Linked DNA regions of Homo sapiens: region 2 is linked to region 1. The links are contacts of gene promoters, found by promoter capture Hi-C in human tissues and cell types (Jung and others, 2019). All regions are on one chromosome and are shown on one strand. The core of a region is centred on a gene start or on the middle of the fragment in contact, and the rest is flanking DNA. Distances in the headings are between cores, read along the strand shown. Region 1 holds the start of SYTL1 (synaptotagmin like 1). Region 2 holds the start of SLC9A1 (solute carrier family 9 member A1).

Region 1 (2,888 bases), core at 1-2,500:
ACAGTGACTCCGGAAAGAAAGCATTTGCCCAGCGCTGAGGGGCATGTAGACGTGGCAAGGGGCCCATGACTTGGTCAGGGCTGTGTCCTGAGCCCACTGGGCGGCCTCTCCTCTCTTCCCCGCCCCTTCCATTGCCACGGCTCCAGGTGGGGCTGAGACCGGCGGAGGCAGCTTGGCGGGCAGGTCCTGGCTTGTGTCCGCCGCCTGCTATGCTCTGTCCCCTCCCAGCTGAGTCAGTGGCCGAGCCCCAGCGATCCCTCTTGACACCCTCAGGAGCAGAAGGCCTCAGCACGGCTGCACGGTGTGCATTCACTCTGTGGATACCTGTGTGCTCCACAACAGCAGTTTCCCTGGACTTCTGTGGCCAACGTGTGAGCCCACGTTCGGCCTCCCCTGTGGATTGGGGTGTGAGCCCACGTTCGGCCTCCCCTGTGGATTGGGGTGTGAGCCCACGTCCCTCTCTGTGCCCTGTTGTGTGGCTGTGTGGGTCCGAGTCTGGTGGGCATGTCTGCGTTGCGTGAGTCTGTGAGCTGTGTAGTTGCTGTGTGTCTTTGTGTCCTGTTGCAGTGTGATGCTGCATGGTGACTATATTGTCTGTGTGGTGTGTTCAGTGACTTTCTAGGTGACAGCGCCGTGTGGGGTGTGTACAGTATGCATTGTGCATTTCCTCCTGTGCTGTATGTGTGACTGGGCTGTGTGCTGTGGGGTGTCCCCTGGTGCCTTGGGGGCCACCAGGTGTGTGTGTCTGAGTGTGGATGGAGGCCGGGGGGACGTTCGGCAGAACTGAGCCTATTTCTGTCCTTCAGGCCTGCCTGAGCTGGGCCATGGGCATCAGCCCAGCGTCCTCAGCAGTGCCCCCTCCCTGAAGTCCCCTCTCCTACCAACCAGAGGCAGAATCTCCTACCAGAGTTAGGTAGGAGTTTGGTCTTCTCTGCTGTTTTGACACGGTGGGACAGACCCATTGGTCAAGAGGAGGGTCTGTCCATCTGTCCAGCTGTTCCAGTTCCAGACATGTGCCCACCTCCCCCAACCCCAAGGTGCTGGAGGGTGCTCAGGATACCAGGTGGCAGTGCCTGCGTCTCTGGACCCTGGCAGGGGACCCTGGCACCGACACGTGTTACCTGTAGGGGTCCAGTATGGGAGGACACCTTCGCAGGTGGCTCCAGCTCCCCTGGCAGCCGAGTTTCAGGGACCGGGAGAAGAGCCGTGAGGGAAGAAGGCTGACTCAACAGGCAGCCCAGCCAGCAGCTGCCCCACACGGAGGAGGAGGAAACACCTCGGCAGGGCCTGATGCAAAACCGGGCCTGGACTCCCAGCGCCCGGGGGTGCGCCCCCGCAGCCGACTGGAGAGGCCCAGCTTGGCCCCAGCTCCACTGAGCAGGCCCTCTAGAACGGGTAGCAGCCCCACCTTGCCCACAACGGGGCTGATAGGAACTCGCTTTGAAAGCAAGTTAGAAACCTTTCTTTTCCAGCCCCAAGGGGAATGGCAGGATGGCAGACTTTGCAGTTAGACCACCCTGTGCAGAGTCCCTGCTCTGCCAGTGGGTGTGTGATGTGACCTTAAGCAGGTCTCTTCCATTTCTTCTGATGCAAACTGTGGGTAGCAGAGTGCAAGGAGCCTATACTAAGGGAAGTGAAAGTGCCCGGTGCGAGCTGGCATAGTCGGGGTGAGGTGTCCCCACTCCAGCATAGCCTAATGCCCACGGCCATCTCAGCAGCTGCTGCCCTCTATATCCACATGCACTTCTGGGACATGCTGGCAGAGCAGCCCTCTCTGTCCCCTCTGCTGTCCTGAGCCCCATCTGTTTGAGGAGGCCTGAACTCTTCTAGTGCCAAGGTGAGGGTCCCACACCCTCTGTCTATGTGGAGCCCCCCTGAACTCACCCCATTCTACACCTAGATTCTGCCCACCCTGAGATTAGAAGGTTTGGGCCCTAGATTACATTGGCTTCAGGACCATGAACCTCCTGGGTTGTCTTGGGCACAAGAGGCCACACCAAAGCTTTCTGACTCCCCCCAAGTCCACTTCACTTCCCATGGCCTGCCCTGGCCCAACCCCCTCCCCTGAACCTAGGGCCATGGATTAAAGATTAGTGGGCTCCTCATAGACCCCTGGGAGAGGCAGGACAAGGGGTGGATTCTAAACAAAACCAGTCTGGGCACAGTGACTCATGCCTGTAATCCCAGTACTTTAAGAGGTCGAGGTGGGCGGATCACTCTAGGACAGGAGTTTGAGACCAGTCTGGCTAATATAGTGAAACCCCGTCTCTACTCAAAATACAAAAATTAACCGGGCATGGTGGCAGGTGCTTGCAGTCCCAGTTACTCGGGAGGCCGAGGCAGGAGAATCGCTTGAACCCAGGAGGCGGAGGTTGCAGTGAGCCGAGATCGCACCACTGCACTCCAGCCTGGGCAACACAGCGAGACTCCGTCTCAGAAAAGCAAACAAGGCTGGGCGTGGTAGCTTACACCTGTAATCCCAGCACTTTGGGAGGCCGAGACGGGTGGATCACGAGGTCAGGAGATCAAGACCATCCTGGCTAACACGGTGAAAACCCATCTCTACTAAAAATACAAAAAAAATTAGCTGGGCGTGGTGGCGGCTGCCTGTAGTCCCAGCTATTTCCCGAGTAGCTGAGGCAGGAGAATGGCATGAACCTGGGAGGTGGAGCTTGCAGTGAGCCGAGATCGCACCACTGCACTCCAGCCTGGGCGACAGAGCGAGACTCCGTCACAAAAAAAAAAAGAAAAGAAAAGAAAAGAAAACTAAACACCCACTCTTCCTTCCTGTAATCAGAACCGACTCCCACCACCACTGAGAGACAGAGGACCCTCCTCCACCTCAGAACCACAGTGGAGGCTTCCCTACTTATTTTTTGCAAATTAAT
Region 2 (2,888 bases), core at 210-2,709, 190 kb after region 1:
TCCTGACCTCGTGATCCGCCCGCCTCGGCCTCCCAAAGTGCTGGGATTACAGGCGTCAGCCACTACGCCCGGCCTAGACAATGGTATTTTAAAAAAGCTTTCCAGTGATTCCATTGTACAGCCATGATCCCTTGAACCTCACCAATTTCAACCAAACTATAGGTTCAAATTTAAGTTCCACTACTTAAAGCATGCCACTGTTGTGGGTTGAATTGTGTCCCGGCAAAAGAAGTTGAAGTCCTAATGCCCAGTGCCTATGAAGATGGACTAATTAGGATGCAGTCTTTGAAGATGTTCAGGTTAAGATGAGGTAATTACGTTGGATTTCTAATCCAATGACTGGTGTCCTTATAAAAAGGGGAAATCTGGCTGGGGGTTGTGGCTTACCCCTGTAATCCCAGCACTTTGGGAGGCCGAGGCGGGTGGATCACCTGAGGTCAGGAGTTCGAGACCAGCCTGACCAACATGGTGAAACCCCATCTCTACTAAAAATACAAAAATTAGCTGGACGTGGTGGTGGGTGCCAGTAATCCCAGCTACTCTGGAGGCTGAGGCAGGAGAATCGCTTGAATCCAGGAGGCAGAGGTTGCATTGAGCTGAGATGGCGCCACCGCACTCCAGCCTGGGCAACAAGAGCCAGACTCTATCTCAAAAAAAATAAAAATAAAAATAAAGTGTGGGCGGGGAATCTGGACGCAGAGACAGAGACACCAGGAGAACTCCATGGAATACCAGATAGTCCTAACAAACCACTGGAAGGTAGGAGAAAGGCATGGGACAGATTCTCCCTCATAGCTCTCAGCTGAAACCAACCCTGCCAACACCTAGATCCGACCTCCAGCCTCCAGAACTGTGAGACAATCAATTTCTGTTGTTGCAGCCACCCAGTTTGGGGTGATACTTTGTTACGGCAGCCCTAGTAAGCAATACAACTACTTGCATAGTAGCCAGGGGACTCTCTTCACCTGTTTCCTCATCTGTAAAAGTGGAATTGTAATAATGTGCCAGGGTGCATTCCAAATAGTTTACACGGATTGTCTCAGTCATTACATCATCCCTCTGACATAGTCACTATTACTGTCTCTACTTAACAGATGAGAAAGTTGTGAAACAGGTTAAGTAACTTGCTCAAGGTCACACGGTAACTAAATACATAAACTAATAATACATTCTTCACAGGATTATTCGAAAGCCCTTATGAGACTGCAGATGTGGACGTGAAATCGTTTTGTAAGTAGTCGGCATTTTACTCGCGTTAGTGAGGTTCTCTGTATATTCAGGACTTTTTTTTTTTTTTTTTTTTGTCATCTCTGACTCTCCTTCCTCTTCCTACGCGATACTTCTTTCCCTCGGCGACAGGGGCCGCTGCGCTGGGCGGGTGCCGACGGTCTCTCTAGCCCGCCGCACCGGCTGCTCGCTGGTGCCTATAAGTGACAGCGCCGGGCTCAGCTAGGCTTCAGTCTGCTGCCGCCGGGGCCGGGGCTAGGGTTAGTTCTGGAGCTGGACCAGGAGGAGCTGCAGCTGGGCCGGGGCGGAGCGCCGCGTCGCGCCAGGGCCGCGAGGAGGGGCGTGTTGCTGCTGGCCCACCGCGAGCCGCCCCCAGCCCGCGCCGAGGCGCCTTCCCGCCAGGCCGCCTGCCTTCCGCCTCTTTCCATTTCCCCGGAATCTCAGCCCGGCGCGCCTGGACCCCTGCCCCTCTCTGGGTGGAGAAGCTCCCGGCCGCTTCCCGGTTTCACTCCTTCTCAGCCTGGGCTCCCAGCCCCCTCTCTCCTTTTCCTGGACTGGCTCTCACCCCCTTCGGTCCCCTTCCTTTAGCTCAGGCTCCCTACCCCTTCCTTTAGCCCACAGCCCAGAGTCCCAGCTCCTCAGTCACTTTCCTCAGCCAAAGGTCCCAGCCTTCCTTCTTCCTTTCCTTTGCACTATCCCTATCCTGCCCCTTCCTCTATCCCTAGGGCTCAGTTTCCCACATCCGTCCTCCCCCTTCCCAGGCCCGGAGTTCCAGACCTTTTGGTCTCCTTTCGTGGTCGTTCCTGGGTCCTTGCCCCCTTTCCCCACTTTGGAGTTCCAGATTGCAAACCCAGCCTCCCTCCACCCCCAGAAAATTGCTTCCATGGAAATGCCTCTCTAAAACATGAACTTTTCCTAGAGACTACGCCAGTCTCTCTTCCCACTTGCTGACCCTTTGCTACCTATGTGCCCGGTTTTACTCTCATTTGGGTAAGGTCGAGGCTGGCTCTGGAAGCAGCACCATGGTTCTGCGGTCTGGCATCTGTGGCCTCTCTCCACATCGGATCTTCCCTTCCTTACTCGTGGTGGTTGCTTTGGTGGGGCTGCTGCCTGTTCTCAGGAGCCATGGCCTCCAGCTCAGCCCAACTGCCAGCACCATTCGAAGCTCAGAGCCACCACGAGAACGCTCGATTGGGGATGTCACCACCGCTCCACCGGAGGTCACCCCAGAGAGCCGCCCTGTTAATCATTCCGTCACTGATCATGGCATGAAGCCGCGCAAGGCCTTTCCAGTCCTGGGCATCGACTACACACACGTGCGCACCCCCTTCGAGATCTCCCTCTGGATCCTTCTGGCCTGCCTCATGAAGATAGGTAAGTCCCGTTTGCTCCGATGCTGCGGCCGCCACCAGACTGGTGAGCTTCTTGCCTCATCTCGCACCATTTGAGGCTGTCCAGGAGTAAGGATCTGAACTACCCCCATAAAGTAGGCAGTCTCCATCCTGCCACCTTGGTCCTTCTCAGGCTCCAGTTCTGTGGCTTCTGATCTGTGATCTGAGGCTTCCCAAGATTGGAGCCAGCACTGTGCACAGAAGAGAGCAGGATTAGAGAATGGGATGCCTCTGATCCTAGGTCCCTTCAGTAAGGCTTCCACGACTGGC

Evidence for each region. Contacts are between HindIII fragments. The study calls those that stand out against the background at their distance.
Region 2: a contact is called between the fragment with the promoter of SLC9A1 here and the fragment with the promoter of SYTL1 in region 1, in 1 of the 25 tissues and cell types used here (pancreas).

The regions. Positions count from the first base shown.
Region 1 is chr1:27,340,384-27,343,271 of GRCh38, reverse strand. SYTL1 (synaptotagmin like 1) reads right to left here and starts at 1,250. Exons shown (of 15, transcript NM_001193308.2): 1 at 1,122-1,250. RefSeq lists enhancers at 1-615, 790-839, 1,370-1,629. The HindIII fragment of the contact is 14,194 bases long and covers 1-2,888 here.
Region 2 is chr1:27,153,696-27,156,583 of GRCh38, reverse strand. SLC9A1 (solute carrier family 9 member A1) reads left to right here and starts at 1,459. Exons shown (of 12, transcript NM_003047.5): 1 at 1,459-2,601. The coding sequence starts at 2,250. RefSeq lists an enhancer at 65-564 and a silencer at 1,510-1,739. The HindIII fragment of the contact is 28,159 bases long and covers 1-2,888 here.